Linked DNA regions of Homo sapiens: all the other regions are linked to region 1. The links are contacts of gene promoters, found by promoter capture Hi-C in blood cells and fetal thymus (Javierre and others, 2016). All regions are on one chromosome and are shown on one strand. Each heading gives the region's core, a stretch centred on a gene start or on the middle of the fragment in contact. The rest is flanking DNA. Distances are from core to core; before and after follow the strand shown.

Region 1 (4,567 bases), core at 130-2,629:
TCAGCTCTGCTCATTCTGGATCCCTCAAGTGTGTGGCTCATGTCACACATGGGACCAGGGTCCTGGTGTTTTATTGTTCCATCCAGGGCTCTATTCTATATATAATCTATCTATCTTTCTTTCTTTCTTTTTCTTTCTTTCTTTCATCTTTCTTTCTTTTTTTTTTAGATGGAGTCTCTCTCTGTTGCCAGGCTGGAGTGCAATGGTGTGATCTTGGCTCATTGCTTTGCAACCTCCACCTCCTGGGTTCAAGTGATTCTCCTGCCTTGGCCTCCCAAGTAGCTGGGATTACAGGCACGTGCCACCATGCCTGGCTATATAATACTTCATCAGATATGGTGGTACAGAAAAGATAAGAAGTTGTGCTCTTACAACAAAAGTTTGAAATATCAGATGATCCAGTAGAGTTCTAAAAGATAGTAAAGATTAGAGGCTGTGGGTATCAAAGATGGGTATCTCTGGGGAAAGAGAAGGAAAGAAATTATATTTTCAGATAGCTATGTCTTAGAGAAGAGTATCTTCTGATGTGCAAGTTGGATTAGAGAGAATGTATAGCTAGTGGAGGGACCAGATGAGAAGCTATTTCAATGGTCCAGGACTATTCTAAAGGTATTTAATATTAACTGGGCAGTTACTATGTTCCAGGCACTGTATCAAGCACTTTACTTACATTAACTCATTTATTTCCTGTGGCAACCCTTTGAGAAAGAATTGTCATGAGTACTCTATTTTACAGATGAGGAGACTGAGGAGGAGAGTGATTTGGCAACATGCCCAAGGTCAGATGATTAATAAATGATGGAGATGAGATTTGAGTTTGTGTGACTTCAGAATCTATGCTGTTGACCATGACCCATATACTGAACTAGGTTAACAGTGTATAACCAGGTGGAGCTTCCCTATAGGAAGTTAGAAAGTAGGATCTGGAGCCCAGGAGAGATATTGGGATATTGGGTTAGAGGAAGAGGTGTGAAGTCATCCGCATGGAGATAACGGTTGAGAAAGACATGGGGAGTGATCACCACAGCTCCTTAAGTAGAGGGTGTTTTATGATTCAAAAGTAGGCAGCCATAGAGAAGGGAAGCTCCTTAGATCGATGAAGTAATCCCAGATAGGAAGAAGAGTGAAAGAGGCAGGGAACAGAGTTTTCTCTGTTGGAGAGGTTTCGTAAACTGGGACTGACTTTCATGAAATTCCGAGTCATGAAATCTCAGGGGGTGACTCAAACATTACGTTCACATTAAATGAAGGCCAACAGATTTTCCTGTTTGTGCTTGGTCCATTCTCAGAAACGTCTCTTGCCACCCTTTCTCTTCTGCTAAGTAAGGCTTAAAATTAGGAAGCATTCTTTAAAAGGCAAAAGAGGAAATAGATGAGTGAGAACACAAAGGAAACTTGGACAAGTAGAAAGTGGATGACCCAGGCTCCGTTACATATACTTGGATTCCAGCTGGGACCTAGATTTGCTGAGGACGGAAGCCAAGGAGACAGGAACATGTGGCTGCTCCCAGCTCTACTCCTTCTCTGCCTCTCAGGTGAGTGGGGCTGTGGCTTTGGGGACTTGGTTTTGCAGGGGGCAGGACAGTAGGTAGAAGAGCTGTCCTGGGTTCAAACCAGAGGTGAAGTGTCCACAGAAAAGGGAAAGATACATCCGTTCATTCACCTGTGCATCCTTCTATACATTCAATCATTCATCCACGGATCCTACAAACACTTACTGAGCACCAGATATGTGCCAGGACTGTTCTGGGTGCTGTAATTAAGAGTAACTTCTGAACTGAGGGAGTCAACTAACTACAATACAATGTGGAAATTACTGTTGTAGAGACTCATTCATGTGGTGATGAGAGTATGCAACAGGAACCCCTCACTTTGCTCTTGGAAGGGTGGGAGATGTCACTGAGGCTTCATTGGAAGTCCATCCTGCAGGATGAATGAGTTGGCTGAGTGGGAAAGGAATAGCTTATGTGCAAGTGTGAGGACATTAAAGACCATGGAGAGTTCAAGAATTAACAATAGTTCTGTTTTGACGAAGCTTAGTGTAAAGGGGTTGGAATGGTTTGTGAGAAATAATTAATGGGCTGGGCGTGGTGGCTCACGCCTGTAATCCCATCACTTTGGGAGGCCAAGGTGGGTGGATCACCTGAGGTCAGGAGTTTGAGACCAGCCTGGCCAACATGGTGAAACCCTGTCTCTACTAAAAATACAAAAATTAGCTGGGCGTGGTGATGCATGCCTGTAGTCCCAGCTACTAGGGAGGCTGAGGCAGGAGGATCGCTTGAACTTGGGAGGCGGAGGTTGCAGTGAGCCGAGATTGCACCACTGCAGCAGTCTGGCCTGGGTGATAGAGTTGAGATCCTGTCTGAAAAAAAAAAATGCCATCCTCAACATCTACCTTAAATCCTTCCCGGAACAAGGTGTGGTGTAAACAAGTAAATGAAACTGTCCTGCAAAGGTTGGACTTCAGAAGAGAAACTCTTATTAATAGACATTCAAAATACAAAACTGCAGGAAAACACATTTGTCTCTGGGGAAATAAATTTAGGCTAAAAATTAGAGGACATTCTTCATGTTTGCAGAATGAATTTTATGGTTGAGTTCCCTCACAAAACATAGAAATTGCCCAATGTAATGACAAGATTCTTTCTAGAAGGGTGAGTGAAAATGACAGCGATTTAAAGGAAGAAGACCAGGTAGGTGACATGGACCCAAACTCGTGGGCTCAAGCAATCCTCCTCTCTTGACCTCCCAAAGCACTGGGATTACAGGCATGAGCCACTGCACTCAACCAATGTTTGCTCATTTTGTATTTGAATTTGCTTCCTTTTTCTTTGCCCTTTCCATCTCTCTTTCCACCCCTATCTCATTCCCCATCCTCAGACTCGCAATGTGACCTGCGCAGGTCCCTCTGAAAATCTTAACTGGGAAAGAGAGATGGAAAGGGCAATTCTAGCAGGGAGGGGAAATGACAAAGAGGAAGGAAGCAAATTCAAATACAAAATAAGCAAACGTTGGTTGAGTGAGGTGGCTCACACCTGTAATCCCAGTGCTTTGGGAGGTCAAAGCAGGAGGAATGCTTCAGCCCAGGAGTTTGAGATCAGCCTGGGCAACATAGCAAGACCCCATTTCTACAAAAAAAGAAAAGTAAAAAATTTAAAAAGAGCAAAACTAGAATTCTATTTATTACACATTTTTATAACCTATAAACACTTCCAAATAGATGATAGAATTTAACCCTCTGAGCAGTTTTGTGACCCAGGCAGGGCAAATAGCATTGACTCCACTTTATAAATAAGATGATGAAGGGAGATCTGATGACATAAGAACTAAGTAGACAAGCTGGAAATGAAGTCCAGATCTGTGTCCTCCACAGAGCTCTTTCCATTGGCCATGGAGGTGTCAAGAATAAGGCTAACCTAGTAATAGTGACAAAATAGCTGACCTCTCTGCCACATCATCTGGTATTTCCATTCTGAACTGATTGCTGTCCAATATTTAGTAGCTCCCATTAACCTCAAGCAACCAGCAAGCACATGTTTCAACAAATGCACCGACGCATTTATATAATTCCATCAATTATTTCCAGGAACATGCTGGATTTCCTTGAGAAATGCTAATCTTGCATTCAGGTAACACTCTAGCAGGACAGAGGAAAGTATCTTGGAATTAGCATAACCTTCTTTTTCCTTAACTTCAGGTGCCCAGAATTAGATCATGGGTCATGGAACACTCTCTCATCACTGGTCCATTCAAGACCCTCTTTTATTTTAATTATATGTAACTTAACAAACATCTGTGAGCTCACTGGCCAATCCATGAACTAGAATGTTATCAACAGCATGGATCTACCCACTCCTTCCCAATCCAGTCCTGGTTCTTCTTTCAAACAACAGTAATTTGGTGTCATCTGCCAATACTTTGCATGAAAATTTGCTTTTGTTATATTTTTACATTAAGTAGAAAATTGGGCTAAGCAACCATAAGCCATGCTCTACATCTGAGGGTCTGTGATTTAATCAGCCACACCCCTTATCTCATCTTTTTCTTTCCTCTTCTTCTTCTTCTTTTTTTTTCGAGAGGGAGTCTGGCTCTGTCACCCAGGCTGGAGTGCAGTGGGGTGATCTTGGCTCACTGCAACCTCCGCCAATCAGGTTCAAGCAATTCTCGTGCCTCGGCCTCCCGAGTAGCTGGGGTTACAGGCGTATGCCACCACACCTGGCTAATTTTTGTATTTTTAGTAGAGACAAGATTTCACCATGTTAGCCAGGCTGGTCTCACCTCCAGTGATCCGCTCACCTTGGCCTTTATCTTTTTCTTTAAGCTCACCTATCCAGGCTCTCCCCTCTGCAAGTTGCCTTGCTTTACCTCCATTTTGGAGGTGGCTTTGCTTACTGGGCTTTAGATAGTACTCTTATCCACACTGCTGCCCTACCTCTGAAATATAAGTCTTTACAAGTGACTTCCTTTTTTTTTTTTGGCCGGAGTCTCGCTTTGTTGCCAGGCTGGAGTGCAATGGCACGATCTTGGCTCACTGAAACCTCTGCCTCCCAGGTTCAAGTGATTCTCC
Region 2 (4,747 bases), core at 69-2,568, 260 kb after region 1:
TCCTGCAAGCTGTTGTTTCCCTGGCCCTGGTGAAATGGACCATCCCTCAAGAATATCAATCCCTGGCAAATAAACAACAGCCGTTGCTGGTGTGCACTCAGAAGAGGCCAGACTGGCTCTCCTGCCCTAGAGGAAGAGTGACCAGAGCAGCCCACAAGCAGGTACCCGGGACATGGATGCCCCGTGGACGGTCTCGGGAGGAGAGCTCAGGCCCCCCTGGAATCACCTCCCATGGCCTGTCCTCTGGGAATGCAGCAGAAAATATGGCAGGAAATATAGGGAGCTTCCCAGCTCTGGGAGTTAGATCTCACATCAGAGCCTGGAACTCCCCATCCCAACCCCCCCTCGGATACTCACAGCGCAGGCCCTGCTGCCCCCTGGTGGCCACATCCTGACCCTGCAAGCCTGAAAGTCCCATGGTTTGGCTAGGCACCCTGGGTGGCACAGTGGGACTGGAGACGGAGCTGCCCGCTCAGGGCAGGTCCTCTGGTGGAGTGCTGGGACCCCAGCCCCAGAAAGTGCAAGTAGCACAGATGACGCCCCAGGCCACCACCTCCTTGCAGCAGGAGGCTAGGGGTGAGAGGAGGCTGACCCTCTCTTCAAGGAGCTGCCATGGGTGAGGGGCAAGGAGGGTCCCTGCCAACATTTACCGAGTGCCCACCCTGTCCCTACACTTTGTTTTTTAAATTTTATGTATAGATATAGAGAGAGTTTGGGGCCTCGCTGTGTTGCCGAGGCTGGTCTGGAACTCCAGGCTTCAAGTGGTCCTTCTGCCTTGGCCTCTCAAAGAGCTGGGATTACAGGTGTGAGTCACCATGCCAAGCCCACTTTGTTTCTTTGAGGGATGTACACTTGACTGGAAACCTTAAATATTCTTCAGACGGAACACAAGGGTTTCAACCAAGGCTGTCACACAGGCTACACAGAAAACTAGAGCTCCCTGGATTCAGAGCGAGGAGAGGGAGAGATGGAGGAGGGGGACTGAGTTTGCTACAATGATGCCCCATGCACGTCCTTCCAGCAACTTACCATCCCACCCCATAGAAGGCCTGTTCTGGGAGGCAGCTGGATTCACCTGGCGGAAACTGCTGGAGTCCTTGGATGGCCTTATTCGGAGGTCCCAGCTTCCCCCTGTGACCTGTGGAGACCTCAGCCACCTGGAATGGCTGAGACAAGAATGCTGGCTTTTCTGTGCATGGGACACCATTGATTTGTCTTCCTCAGTATATGCTTCTGTACCCAGGACAGCAGTGATGTCCTGCAGGGAAGTGGGGACCCACTGGATCTTTTGCTCCATGGGCAACATCATAATACTCATTGCTAACAACGCTGGGATCCATGGTTCAAGAGATGGAGCCTGGAGATGTCCAGCTCAGTGGCAGCAGCAGACAGGACAGGGCAACCACGTCATCAGCCAGCACACAGCCTATACAGAGGTGAGAGGCCCCTTCTTGGTGGTGGCGATTCTTTCCTACATGGTGTGGTGTCAGTGACCAGGGTAGGCTGCTAGCCCACGGTGGAAGGGATCCTATCCACTAAGGCAGTCACCTCTGAGCCAGCCTGGGCAAGGTGAAAGATGTTATGAAGACCCAGCCGCACACCTTGACTTTTTTTTTCTTTTCTTTTTGAGACAGAGTCTCGCTCTGTCACCCAGGCTGGAGTGCAATGGTGCTATCTCGGCTCACTGCAACCTCTGCCTCCTGGGTTCCAGTGATTCTCCTGCCTCAGCCTCCCAAGTAGCTGGGATTACAGGTGCCTGCCACCATGCCTGGCTAATTTTTGTATTTTTAGTAGAGACGGGGTTTCACCGTGTTAGCCAGGCTGGTCCTGAGCTCCTGGCCTCAGGTGATATGCCCACCTGGGTCTCCCAAAAATGCTGGGATCACAGGTGTGAGCCACCGCACCCGGCCACACCTTGACCTTTTTGGTCTCTGAAGTCTTCAGCCCTGATCAGTCCAGCCAGAGCCACCAGGCCTGAGCACCAGGGTCTCTCTCTCTCTTTTTTTTCCTTCTGCCTCCCTACCCCTCAAGACAGGGTCTCACTCTGTCACCCAGGCTGTGGTACAGTGGTGTGATCATAGCTCACTGCAGCCTCGAACTCCCAGGCTCAAGTGATCCTCCCATCTCAGCCTCCCAAATAGCTGGCATTACAGGCAAGCACCAACACGCCCAGCTAATTTTCGTATTTTTTGTAGAGACGGTGTTTCGCCATGTTGCCTAGGCTGGTCTCGAGCTCCTGGGCTCATGCAATCCACCTGCCTCGGCCTCCCAGAGTGCTGGGATTACAGATGTGAGCCACCACACCTGGCCAAGGATTCCTTCTTATTTAAGTTTTTGTTTGTTTGAGACAGAGTCTCACCCTGTTGCCCAGGCTGGAGTGCAGGGGTGCAATCTCAGCTCACTGCAACCTCTGCTTCCCGGGTTCAAGCGATTTTCCTGCCTCAGCCTCCCAAGTAGCTGGGATTACAGTCACCAGCCACCAAGCTTGGCTAATATTTGTAGTTTTAGTAGAGACGGGGTTTTACCATGTTGCCCGGGCTGGGCTTGAACTCCTGACCTCAAGTGATCCACCCGCCTCAGCCTCCCAAAGTGCTGGAATTAAAGGTGTGAGACATCATGCCCGGCCTCATATTTACCTTTATGTGCTCCCCTGTGTACACGGGGCCTGGAACTTAAACCCATGATCTCCTGTCCCCAGTCCAAGTGGCCCAGTGACTCAGGGAACCCTAAGTCAGGACAGGAGGCACTACAGATGCAAGGGAGGGTGCCAGGTAGGGCCAGGCTGCGTCTGGAGCCCACCCCTCTGAGGTGTTACCACAGTCCAGTGTCTGATCACCCCCTTTGCAGATTCAGAAACTCTTTATCTGGTCCCAAGCTTGCAAGAGTTTTCCGTTGCTTTTACAGTACTAGAGATTCCTTGTCCAAAGGGATCACTTATCACAATTGGAAAAACTTCCCCAAAAAGACAGCATGGGCTGGACATGGTGGCTCACATCTGTAATCCCAGCACTTTGGGGAGGCCGAGGCGGGCAGATCACGAGGTCAGGAGATCGAGACCATCCTGGCCAACATGGTGAAACCCCGTCTCTACTAAAAATACAACAATTAGCCAGCCACTACAGGTAGTGGGTACCTGTAGTCCCAGCTACTCCGGAGGCAAAGGCAGGAGAATCGCCTGCACCCAGGAGGCAGAGGTTGCAGTGAGCTGAGATCGCACCACTGTACTCCAGCCTGGCGACAGAGTGAGACTCCATCTCAAACAAAACAAAACAAAACAAAACAAAACAAAAACACAACATGGGGTTGTGGAAAGAAAAGTCAAGTAGCCAGGTGCAGTGGTTCATACCTGTGGTCCCAGCTACTTGGAAGGCTGAGGCTGGAGGATTGCTTGAGCCCAGGAATTTGAGGCTGCAGTGAGCTATGACAGTGCCACCACACTCCAGCCTGGGTGAAAGAGTGAGACCCCATATCTAACAACAACAACAACAAAAATCAGAAAAAAGAAAAGTCAAGCACAACTCAGAACTCGAAAAATAAATCCTGCCTCTGAGGTTCCTGGTCATAAGACCTCAGACACATGGCTTGGGCTATAAACACTCCCGTCTGGGGCGGGAAGTAACACTCCTCTCTAGGATGGTGCTGGCTTGTGAATTCATCAGACTTGCCTTCAAGGAATTATGGCGCTCCCAGATCCATGGGGCCAATATATGTGTGTGTGTGTGTGTGTGTGTGTGTGTGTGTGTGTGTGTGTGTGTGTGTATATATATATATATATATATGCAGTGCTGCAGATTCTTCCTCTCAAAGACTTGGCCAAGCACCGTGGCCCACGCCTGTAATCCCAGCACTTTGGGAGGCCAAGGCGGGAGGATCACCTGAGGTGAGGAGATCGAGACCAGCCTGGCCAACATGGTGAAACCTCATCTCTACTAAAAATACAAAAATTAGCTGCACATAGTAGTGCACACCTGTAATCCCAGCTACACAGGAGGCTGAGGCAGGAGAATTGTTTGAACCCAGAAGGTGGAGGTTGCAGTGAGCTGAGATGGCGCCACCGCACTCCAGCCTGGGCGACAGAGCGAGGCTTCATCTCAAAAGAAAAAAAAAAAGGGCTCAGGGCAAATACCTGGCTTCCTCTCTCCCGCCCCAGGACACTCCCCCACACATACATATGCATGTACACATACCACACACACATATCCACAAATATGCATGCACACACACCACGCACATGCATGGACACACACAATACGCACACACATATAAATAGGCACATGCACACACACGCACTGCATACACACATGTGCACATGCATACCATACACACACACACACACACACACACACACACTCCAGCAATGCTCTGTTACGAAAATGAGAGGCCGGGCACGGTGGCTCACGCCTGTAATCCCAGCACTTTGGGAGGCCGAGGCGGTCGGATCACGAGGTCAGGAGATTGAGACCATCCCGGCTAACACGGTAAAACCCCGTCTCTACTGAAAGTACAAAAAATTAGCTGAGCGTGGTGGTGGGCGCCTGTAGTCCCAGCTACTCGGGAGGCTGAGGCAGGAGAATGGTGTGAACCCAGGAGGCAGAGCTTGCAGTGAGCCAAGATTGTGCCACTGCACTCCAGCCTGGGCAATGGTGCAGGACTCCGTCTCAAAAAAAAAGAAAAAAAGAAAATGAGAACAGAGAATGCCTCTATGTGGAAAGCTAGTTTCTAAATCATTCGAAGAGGGCCAGGGATA
Region 3 (5,313 bases), core at 1,167-3,666, 330 kb after region 1:
TCCCTTGAGCCCAGGAGTTTAAGACCAGCCTGGGCAGCATGATGAAACCTTGTGACTAAAAAAACTACAAAAATTAGCCGAGTGTGGTGGCACATGCCTGTAGGCTCAGCTACTCGGGAGGCTGGGGTGGAAGAATTGCTCGGGCCCAGGAGGTCGAGGCTGCAATGAGCAGTGATTACACCACTGCACTCCAGCCTGGGCAACAGAGTAAAACTCTGTCTCAAAAAAAAAAAAAAAAAAAGAAAAAGAAAATGATTATAAGGGAATACTGTGAACAATTAAATGTCAACAAACTAGACAACTTGATGAAATGGAAAAGTTCCTAGAAAGACAGAAACTACCAAAAGCAATTAAAGAAGAAACAGAAAATGTGAAGAGGATCTATAACAAATAAACAGACTGAATTGTAACTTTTAAGCTTCCAATAAAGAAAAGCCAGGGACCAGATGGCTTCACTGATGAGTTCTACCAAACATTTCAAGAATTAATAGCGGCCAGGCATGGTGGCTCACGCCAGTAATCCCAGTACTTTGGAAGGCCAAGGAGGGAGGATCACTTGAGGTCAGGAATTTGAGACAAGTCTGGCCAACATAGTGAAACCCTAACTCTACTGAAAAAAGACAAAATTAGCCAGGCGTGGTGGCATGAGCCTGTAGTCCCAGCTACTCAGGAGGCTGAGGCAGGAGAATCACTTGAATCCGAGAGGTGGAGGCTGCAGTGAGCTGAGACTGCACCACTGCACTCCGGCCTGGGCGACAGAGCGAGACTCCATCTCAAAAAAAAAAAAAATTAATATCAATTCTTCACAAACTTCCAGAAGGGAATACTTCCCAACTCATTCTATAAGGCCAGTATTACCCATATCCGTTAGCATGTAGGTTTCCCAGAAACCTCTCCCAAAATAGGGCTCCCCAACGCTCTCATCATCCCTTTATGGCGGCCCCTAGTCAAATATTCTCTGATTTTACTTGAACTATAGTTTTTTAAAACTGTTTATTTTGAGCTAATTTTAGACTTACAGTAGTAACAGGAGACACTGCTGAGGTGTCAGCCAAACCTGCCTCACCCGTGTCTGCAGTTGGTCAGCTATGGGAGGCCCTCACCCCACTTAGTCTTCTGTGGCCGAGCCCAGGCTGCCATGTGGGCTCTGCCCTATAGCAGCAGGATTGGCTCTGACTATGAATCTGGGTCCCGGCCAGGTGTGGTGGCCCACACCTGTAATCCCAGCACTTTGGGAGGCCCAGGTGGGTGAATCACCTGAGGTCAGGAGTGCGAGACCAGCCTGGCCAACATGGTGAAACCCTGTCTCTACTAAAAATAACAAAAAAATTAGCCAGGTGTGGTGGTGGGTGCCTGTAATCTCAGCGACTCGGGAGGCTGAGGCAGGAGAATCACTTGAACCCAGGAGGCGGAGGTTGCAGTGAGCCAAAATTGCACCACTACACTCCAGCCTGGGAAACAAGAGCAAAATTCCATCTAAAAAAAATAAAAATAAAAATAAAAAAGCCTAGGTCCCTCCTTACCTATCTGTCCATTGTAGCAGCCACCCAGGAGTACGTGGGAATCTTTGGGGTTGAACTCCAACGTCACGAGTGGAGACGATGGCTTCAGAGCAAGTTCAGGCTTGTTGGGGTTTTCTATAAAGCACAAAAAAATTATCCCCACCAGGCCCGGAAAGAAAAGGACAGGATCAACCAGTTTCACCCCTTCTGCGGGTGGGTAGCGGGGGCATGGTGGCAGAGGGGGAAGCCTGGAAGCCCCTCCAGTCTTTCCCCAGCCTGCACCCCCTGGTCCACCTTGGCCAGAATCTGGCATTCTTGACCCTAGGGGCTTTGCTGATGGTTTTTATTTTTGGTGAACAGGATTGGGGTGTGCGTATGTGTGTGATAATTATATTTCTAGTCCAGTTCCTAGGTTTGGTGTGAAACGAGGTTTTGATACTAAAGTTTTTACACAAAGTCAACTCTCTGCCGGTTTCTTCCAACCAGGTCTGTGGACTGCAGATAATGACGGAGTCCACCCCATAGGGCTGCTGCCAGAACTCGCTGAGCTGTTGGAATGTCGGGCGTTAGCTCTCTGCCTGGCACCTACATGTTTATTTTAATAATGCTGACAACGAAGGGAAGCTGGAGAGCGTGAAGCCACCACCACCCTGTCCCTGCCTGTGTCTTGCCAGCCCTTCTGTAGACAATGGTTTGTGCTAATAAATGGACACGCTGCCCCTGCAGGCCATGAATTAAAGGCAAGTGTCAGGACAGATGGGACAAAGGCACAAGTTCCATTCCGCCGCCCCTTGAGTCCCTTCTCAGTCTGCTGGGCACTCTGTCTTGTTGTTGCTGTTGAGATAGAGTCTCACTCTGTTGCCCAGGATGGAGTGCAGTGGCATGATCTCGGCTCACTGCAACCTCTGACTCCTGGGTTCAAGCGATTCTCCTGCTTCAGTCTCCCAAGTAGCTGGGATTACAGGCACCCACCATCAAGCACAACTAATTTTTGTATTTTTAGTAGAGACAGGGTTTTATCATGTTAGCCAGGCTGGTCTTGAACTCCTGACTTCAGGTGATCCACCTGCCTTGGCCTCCCAAAGTGCTGGGATTACAGGCATGGGCCACCGAGCCCGGCCTGATATGCTCCTTAGGAGCTAAGAATTGAGATCCCATGGGGTCAGGTCTTCATGCCTCGAACTAAGAATCTGGAATTGGTGGGGGTTTCCTGCTTCTGATTTGACTCTGCTTGGCTCTGCCTGAAACCAGACAAGAGAGGAAGGAGAAGAGTGTGTTCCTCCTCGACTGCGGGCCCTTCCCTTGAGGCACCAACCGCGTGAGTGTCCTTGACCTCCTGCCCCTCCCTCCCGCTCCTCCACTTGTGCTGGTCCCAGCCCTCAGCCCTCCCAGGCCACCAGGACCCCGCTGCTTCTCACCCAGGTCCCAGATGTATGAATCGCTGCTCATGCCCACAGGTGCCCGCTGAAAATCCAAGCAGGAGTATGCCACTGCCAACTTCCTGTTGCCATCGGGGTGCCAGGAGAGGTGTGTGGCAGCCCTCTTGATTTCCTGGGGGTCCCTGCAGGGGAGAGGGAAGAGAGCAGAAGGCTGGATGTGAGGTTCCCCAATTTCTCCCCCTTTTTTTTTTTTTTGTCAGATGGAGTCTTGCTCTGTCCCCCAGGCAGTGGCATAATCTCGGCTCACTGCAACCTCTGCCTCCTGGGTTCAAACAATTCTCCTGCCTCAGCCTCCCGAGTAGCTACGATTACAGGCGCACACCACCACGCCTGGCTAATTTTTGTATTTTTAGTAGAGACAGGTTTTTACCATGTTTCCTAGGCTGGTCTCAAACTCGTGACCTCAGATGATATGCCCACCTGGGCCTCCCAAAGTGCTAAGATTATAGGCGTGAGCCACAGTGCCCGGCCCCTCGGATGATTTCTAATGCATCATCCTGCTCTGGTGGTCCATATACGAGGTTAGAGCCCAGCAGGGCTGGAGGGCAACAGGAAGGGCAGCCTCTGCCCCGCCATGCCCTCTCCTGCACACCCCTTGCTGACAGCCACTGGCCCTGCTTGCACACCATGAGTCAGCCCTGCCTCAGAAAAGAGTTCTTTCTTGCTGTGCTGGGACTGGGCTAGGTACTTCCCAGGCCCCTAAGTCAGTCGTGGTAGTGAAATGAATTCCCCAGAGCTGGGATCTGAGGCAAGTCATTTCCCAAACACCTTTCACACCCCTAGTCCTGCATCACCCAGACCCAAGGTCTGTCCTCTGCCCCAGGTCCACAGGCTTCCCCTCCGCATTTCCCCAGCTGCTCTATTCCAGCCTCCTGCTCATCTCCACTCATCTGATTGGACGGCCTTGCTTTTTTCTTCATGGTCAAAACCGAGGCCACAGAGCATGGTCTTTCTCACTTCCACCCACTTTCTGCAACTCCTTCCACCAGACTTCAAGGCCGAGGAGTCCTTCTTCCCCAGGCTTCTCCCCATCCCTGTTCCCAAGCTCTCCTTCCTATCAGCTTCTTTTGTACACCCTACAAAGGTGCTCTGGGATGGGGTATTCTGTTCCTGGGGCTGCTGCAACGAGGTCCCACAAACTGCGTGGCTTCAAACAACAGAAATTGATTCTATCACAGTTCCGGATGCCAGAAGTCCAAAATCACAGATGTTCTCCTCACATCAGGCATGTAAACATACATCTACACATATATACACACATACACATATGCATATATTTATACACATATACAGATGCTCCTTATCTAATGATGTTGGCTACATCTGATAAACCCATAGTAAGTTGGAAATATCAGGAGCTGAAAATGCATTGAATACACCTAACCTACCCAGCATCACATCTTAGTCCAGCCTATGTGCTCAGAACACTTATATTAGCCTATAGTTGGGCAAAATCACCTAGCACAAAGCTTATTTTATAATAAAGAGGTGAACAGCTCATGTAATTTTCTGAATACTGTACTGAGGGTGGAAAACAGAATGGTTGTATGGGTACTTGAAGTACGGTTTCTCCTGGATTTGCATTGCTTTTGCAGCCTTGCAAAGACAAAAAATGGTTTAAGTTGGGGACTGCCACAAAAAGTGGCACTCTGCACACCCTGTTCTGCACCGGCTTTGTTTTGGTTTGGTTTTCACATACTGAATCCTGGAAATGACTCCATATCAGCACATAAGAAGTTGCACTGCTTTTTTTTTTTTTTTGAGACAGAGTCTTGCTGTATTGCCCAGGCTGCAGTGCAGTGGTGCGATCTCGGCTCACTGCAACCTCCGCCTCCCAGGTTCAAGTGATTCTCCTGCCTCAGCATCCCGAGTAGCTGGGATTACAGGCATGTGCCACCACACCCAGTTAATTTTTGTATTTTTAGTAGAGACGGGGTTTTGCCATGTTGGCCAGGCTAGTCTTGAACTCCTGACCTCAGGTGATGCACCCGCCTTGGCCTCCCAAAGTGCTGGGATTACAGGCGTGAGCCACCATGCCCAGACTGCCCCGCTCGCTTTACCAGGTGCATGGCATTCCGTCGTGTGGGTGTGCCAGAACTGCTAGAACCAGTCCCCTATGGATGGACTTAGCTTGTTCTAGTCTTTGGCTGGCATACACCCTCTGCAGTGAATATCCACGCCTGCGGTGATTTCACACACACACACACACACAACCTGTGGGATGAATCCCTGGTGTCAAACTTCTATCCTCTGGAGTTATTCATGGATATACTCGCATGAGTGCAGGCCGCGGCGGGGGCCTGTGTGCCCACAGTGCTGCTAGCTGCTCATGCTTGGTACTTGTACTTACTCTGCCCTGCAGGAACATGCCC
Region 4 (4,662 bases), core at 1,727-4,226, 280 kb after region 1:
AACAGAGCAAGACTCTGTCTCAAAAAAAAAAAAAAATCTTTACTGTCTGCCTCTCTCTTTATATTAGTAAATTTTTTTTTAAAAAAAGCTTTACTGTCTGTTGGAAAACCATCATAGCAAATATGCAGGTCTACAAGGAAACGGAGCCCATTCCGGGGGTGCAGGCATGACCTCGCAGCCCTACGCCACAGCCCTTAGTGTGCGCCCTGCGCAGCTCATTGCTCACGTGCCTCTCCCTCGTGGGATCCCACCTACTCTTCCAAGGTGGGGTTGGGAAATCGGCTTGTGATCTCTGGTAACTGTCTGAAGCAGAGATCACAACCCCATTTAACAGCTGAATGCTAGGAGGCTCAGAGCTGGTGAGTGCCTAGCTCAACCACCCAGCCAGAAAGAGCCCGATTCTGGATTTGAACACAACATGGCCTGATCCCAGAGCAACGTGAGGCTGGCCGGAGGGGGCTGCCACTCACACAGACCCACAGGCGCACCTTGGATGTGGCGGATGTCACCCCGATCCTGCCGGCCCCGGGCCTGGCCCCGCCCAGTCTGCTCATCAATCTTGCGCTTGAGTCGCTGGATCTCGCCCCGCAGGTCAGCGATGATGCTGGTGTACTGGGCGATGTGGTAGGAGACGTTCAGGAGGTTCTGCTTCACCTGCAGGGAACACGTATGGAGCGGAGGGGATGCAGTCACCCCAGGTGCACTCACCGAGGCCTGCCTGCAGGGCCTTTCTTCCCCCTGCCTCCCCCAGTCTTTCTGGGTGACAGTAATGGCCTCCTTTCCTCCACTTCCACAACCTCCTGTCACACTCACTGCTAGATCTCATCAACCTTCAGTGGCTTCCTAATGCCTGCGGGGAACGTCCTCATTCCTCCACCCGTTGTTGAAGGGCCACCCCCATCTCTCTGATTTTCTCTGGGCTCACCGCTCCTGCATGAACATCCCACTCCAGTTGAAGACCTGTCCTGCTCTCCCCATACCCACCACAGACGCCATCCCCTTCCTGCCTTTGGAACCTGTGCTCTCCCTGCTCCCACCTTTCTGGAATGTCCTCCCAGCCTTCAGGGTCCCACTCACAGTCTCCAGAGAGTTCCACTGGACCCCACCAGGCCACCCCCACCTCCTGTTCCTGTCTTGCCCCAGCACCTACCATTGGCATCATTTACCTGCTATTAGGAATATTCTGAACCATCAATGAGCTGTTTCAAGAATGTGTCTCCCGTCCCCCATTGAGGGGTTGGAATAAAACTTACAGCCCTCAGGGCAGCAGCTGGCAAGTGTTAGGTGTTGGGAGAATGTTCCCTACATGCTATCATACATGAATCCATTCCCACTCCTCCACACACGAACAGGTGGAAATGGATTTCTAAGCGGATGGCAAGGGTTCCGACATGCTTACAGACAGGTGAGGACACGGACTTGGAAACGGGGCAGATCTCATTTCCATCCTCAGCGCCATCACTGGCCAGCTGGGAAGTCACTTAACTTCCTTAAGCCTTGCTGTCCTAATCTGTACATGGGAACCGCAATAATACTGCTGTTTTTTGAGGATCAAAGGAGGTAGCATGTGAAACAGCTCAGAGCAAGTGCTCAATGAAGCTTGCCTCCTGTGATGACCATCATGAAGAGGTGCTTTGGAAATGCAAAGGTCTAAATGAGCATCTGAAGACGAGGAAGGGAAGAGAAGAGGGGATGAGGCAGGGGGAGCACAGTCCTGGGACTGGAGGAAGCGGGGACCCTTGGGAGCTGTCGGCTTCCCGGCAGAGGAGCAGGGTTTGGAGGTGCAGGGAAAGTGTACAGGTGACGATCAACTAGGGAATGAGGCCAGTGCAGCAGTGGCTGGTTCCAGAGAGTGCAGTGGGGTGGCAGGGATCAGCCCGGGGGCTTGAATCTCAGCCCAGGAAGGTGTGTCCTGGTGGACGGTCCAGGGGCCCTCACCCTAGTCTTAATGTTCTTGGCCCGGCCGGCGTAGGTCAGGGTGTTCCGGGACTCCTCGAAGGCACTGCTCGCAGGACTGATGTGAGCGATCATCACTGTGCGGCTGTTTCCTCCCAGAGAGTCCTGGATGGGAGGTGGCTGTGGTCAGTGGGGACTGCCTCCTCAGGCCTTCCTCCTGCCAGGCTGTTCACGATGCCCTCCCTGGCGAGTGCAATCTCTCTGTCTCTTTACACTTAAGGGACCCGGCTGCTGAGCGTCATATGGTGTGAGGCTTGGGAGGAAGAAAGCCCTGCTCCAGCAATTACCAGCTGTGTAACCTTAATAAAGCTCATTCACCTCTTTAGTTCTTTTTTTTTTTTTTTTGAGACAGGGTCTCGATCTGTCATCCAGGCTGGAGTGCAGTGGCGCTGTCTCAGCTCACTGCAACCTCCACCTCCCAGGTCCAAGCAATTCTCGTGCCTCAGCCTCTCGAGTAGCTGGGACTATAGGCGTCTGCCACCATGCCTGGGCAATTTTTGTATTTTTAGTAGAGATGGGGTTTCACCATGGTGGCCAGGCTTGTCTTGAACTCCTGACCTTAAGTGATCCACCTGCCTCGGCCTCCCAAAGTGCTGGGATTCCAGGCGTGAGCCACCACACCCGGCTTTCCTTGCTTTTTAAGGGGGCAGTCCTTTTGCAATTGTCCCCACCTCCCCGGCTTCTAGGTGCAGTCATGACGGCAGCTGCTGGCAATGTTAAGTAAGCGGTGACTCTGATATTAGATCAGGGAGGCCTCTGACTGGATCCTACTTTCAGCACTTACTAGTGTGAGCCCTTAGGAACATTACCTAACTGAGTTGTGCCTCAGTTTCCTCATCTGCAAATGTAATCCCTCAAACTCATAGAGTTGTTGACGAGATCTAAGGAGCTAATAGAGTGAAGTACTGAATTCAAGAGACCAGCCAGGAGTGGGCGCTCAGTGATGCTGCTATAATTTAAGGCCAAGGACACCCCTGCACAAAGGAGGCCACCCCCAAACAGCTGACCTGTGGGGCCATGAGGCTGACTGCCCACCTGCACCCCCAAATCTAGACGGCTCTGACCCACAGCCCTGGGTGGGGGTATCACGTGCTCCTTTTCCTTCCCATTGCCCAGCCTTTGGTTAGGGTCGTCAGATAAAATACAGGATACCCAGTTAAATTTGAATTTCAGATATGCAATTACTTTGTTTTAGCATAAGAATATCCCAAATATTTCATGGGACATATTTACGCTAAAATAAATTTTGCTGTGTATCCTGAGGTTGGAATTTAGCTGGGTGCCCTGTATTTTCATTTGTTTAATCTGGCAGCCTCACCCTTGGTGCCCAGTGCCCAGGCCCAGCTGTGGCTGGTACCTTCAGGAGCCGGGTGAGCTTGCTGTCGCGATAGTTGATGTACTTGTTGCTACCCTTGTCGCTCAGGGCGTTGATGCAGTTGCCCAGTGCCAGCAGTGAGCGGTTGATGTGGGCCCCCTCCTTCATACGCTGCCCACGATTCTGTGTCTAGGGGGCGAGCAAAGGGCACACGTGTGGCCTGATGAGGCAGGGGACTGGGTTTCTCCCCAGCCACCCCACCAATGAATGACCTGGTGATCCTGGGTAATAAACCCCCAAGGACCTTGTGGCCGTCCTCCTGCCAAGGCCACTGAGGGCATTGGAGAAGGTTAAGAGACCCAGAGGCCTCTGAACAAGAGTGATGGGCTGACAGCTTCTGAGGAGGGCTGAGATGGCCGGTTCTCCTCAGGGCAGGTGCCGTGGCACGGCCTGACACACAGTGCCATGGATGAGATGGGAGGGAGGTTGCTTTCCAGGCAGCTCAGCTGGGAGCCGGCAGGACCACTGGTGCTCCAGAGGGTGCTCCAGGGAGCAAGGAGGAAAGTGCGTGCACATGTGCATGGTGGTGGAGGGCAGGTTCTTCTCCTTTTCTTGGGCCTGCAGGAGCATGTCAAAGCCGAGGAGGCCCTGCCTGCAGCTCCCCTTAGGAGGTGGCTCTGCCCAGCCTGGAGAAGCCGGGACCAGCTCGCTCCAGTGGCTGAAGGGCACTCTCTCTCCTCCCAGGCCTCTCCCCTGTGTGCCTTCCAGGAAGCCCCCCAGGCTTTACTGGAAGGGAGGGGTAAGTTTCTTGAACCTGCCCTGTTCGGATCCGACCCCAGATGTTCAAAGACAAAAGACTGCTCATTCTTTCTGGCACTGTCATTTCCCTTGCATTTGTTCCAGTGCCAGCAATGGTGACATCACCCAGCCTCATTGCTCAGGTGACCATAAAACCCCCAAGATTGCCTGCACGAGGGAGCCCAGACCTACACCAGCTGGGTGGTGCTGCCACCAAGGCTGCAGAGCTCGGCAAGCAGGACTTCATGGGAGGGGACAAAGGTGCTGCCACAAAGCCAAGCTTCATGAGAGGGGACAAAGATGCTGCCAGAAATGGGTGACGGGGACCTTCTCCTCTTTGTGATGTGACTGGCTGGGTCCTCTCCCAGGATGTGTCAAGTCCTCCCAGTCAGGGGATGCTTGTCTCTCCCTGCCTCCAACTACTCCTTTGGGCCCATTCATTGTCTTCCTGGATCCCTCCCCTAGGGCAGCCACAGTCTCCTTCCCTGGAGAAACCCCCATCCTCCTTCCCCTTCCCACCAGAGCTCCTTGGCTCTTCCCGGGATGCCCTACCCCATTCCCCCCAACCCTGCTCCTCTGGAACGTTCCTCACT

Evidence for each region. The method cuts DNA at HindIII sites, captures the fragments that hold promoters and counts their contacts. A CHiCAGO score of 5 or more calls a contact.
Region 2: a contact is called between the fragment with the promoter of GPR142 here and the fragment with the promoter of CD300E in region 1, in 3 of 17 cell types (monocytes, M2 macrophages and total CD8 T cells). The highest score is 10.2, in monocytes.
Region 3: a fragment that was not itself captured here is called in contact with the fragment with the promoter of CD300E in region 1 in 4 of 17 cell types (M1 macrophages, megakaryocytes, M0 macrophages and 1 more); the score reaches 7.2 in M1 macrophages.
Region 4: a fragment that was not itself captured here is called in contact with the fragment with the promoter of CD300E in region 1 in 1 of 17 cell types (M2 macrophages); the score reaches 5.0 in M2 macrophages.

Annotation. Positions count from the first base shown.
Region 1 is chr17:74,620,550-74,625,116 of GRCh38, reverse strand. CD300E (CD300e molecule) reads left to right here and starts at 1,379. Exons shown (of 4, transcript NM_181449.3): 1 at 1,379-1,535. The coding sequence starts at 1,496. The region is part of intron 3 of LOC101928343 (a long non-coding RNA gene); the gene reads right to left. The HindIII fragment of the contact is 4,294 bases long and covers 1-2,037 here.
Region 2 is chr17:74,364,077-74,368,823 of GRCh38, reverse strand. It overlaps GPR142 (G protein-coupled receptor 142), which reads right to left and starts at 1,318. Exons shown (of 4, transcript NM_001331076.1): 1 at 1,030-1,318. RefSeq lists an enhancer at 1-704. The HindIII fragment of the contact is 12,679 bases long and covers 1-2,486 here.
Region 3 is chr17:74,287,344-74,292,656 of GRCh38, reverse strand. It overlaps DNAI2 (dynein axonemal intermediate chain 2), which reads right to left. Exons shown (of 14, transcript NM_023036.6): 5 at 2,921-3,063; 6 at 1,524-1,637. Among named protein-coding and RNA genes, the nearest start is that of DNAI2, 16 kb to the right of the region's middle. RefSeq lists an enhancer at 3,059-3,559. The HindIII fragment of the contact is 3,992 bases long and covers 421-4,412 here.
Region 4 is chr17:74,345,176-74,349,837 of GRCh38, reverse strand. KIF19 (kinesin family member 19) reads right to left here. Exons shown (of 20, transcript NM_153209.4): 8 at 3,314-3,460; 9 at 1,939-2,061; 10 at 489-654. Among named protein-coding and RNA genes, the nearest start is that of BTBD17, 14 kb to the left of the region's middle. The HindIII fragment of the contact is 2,750 bases long and covers 1,602-4,351 here.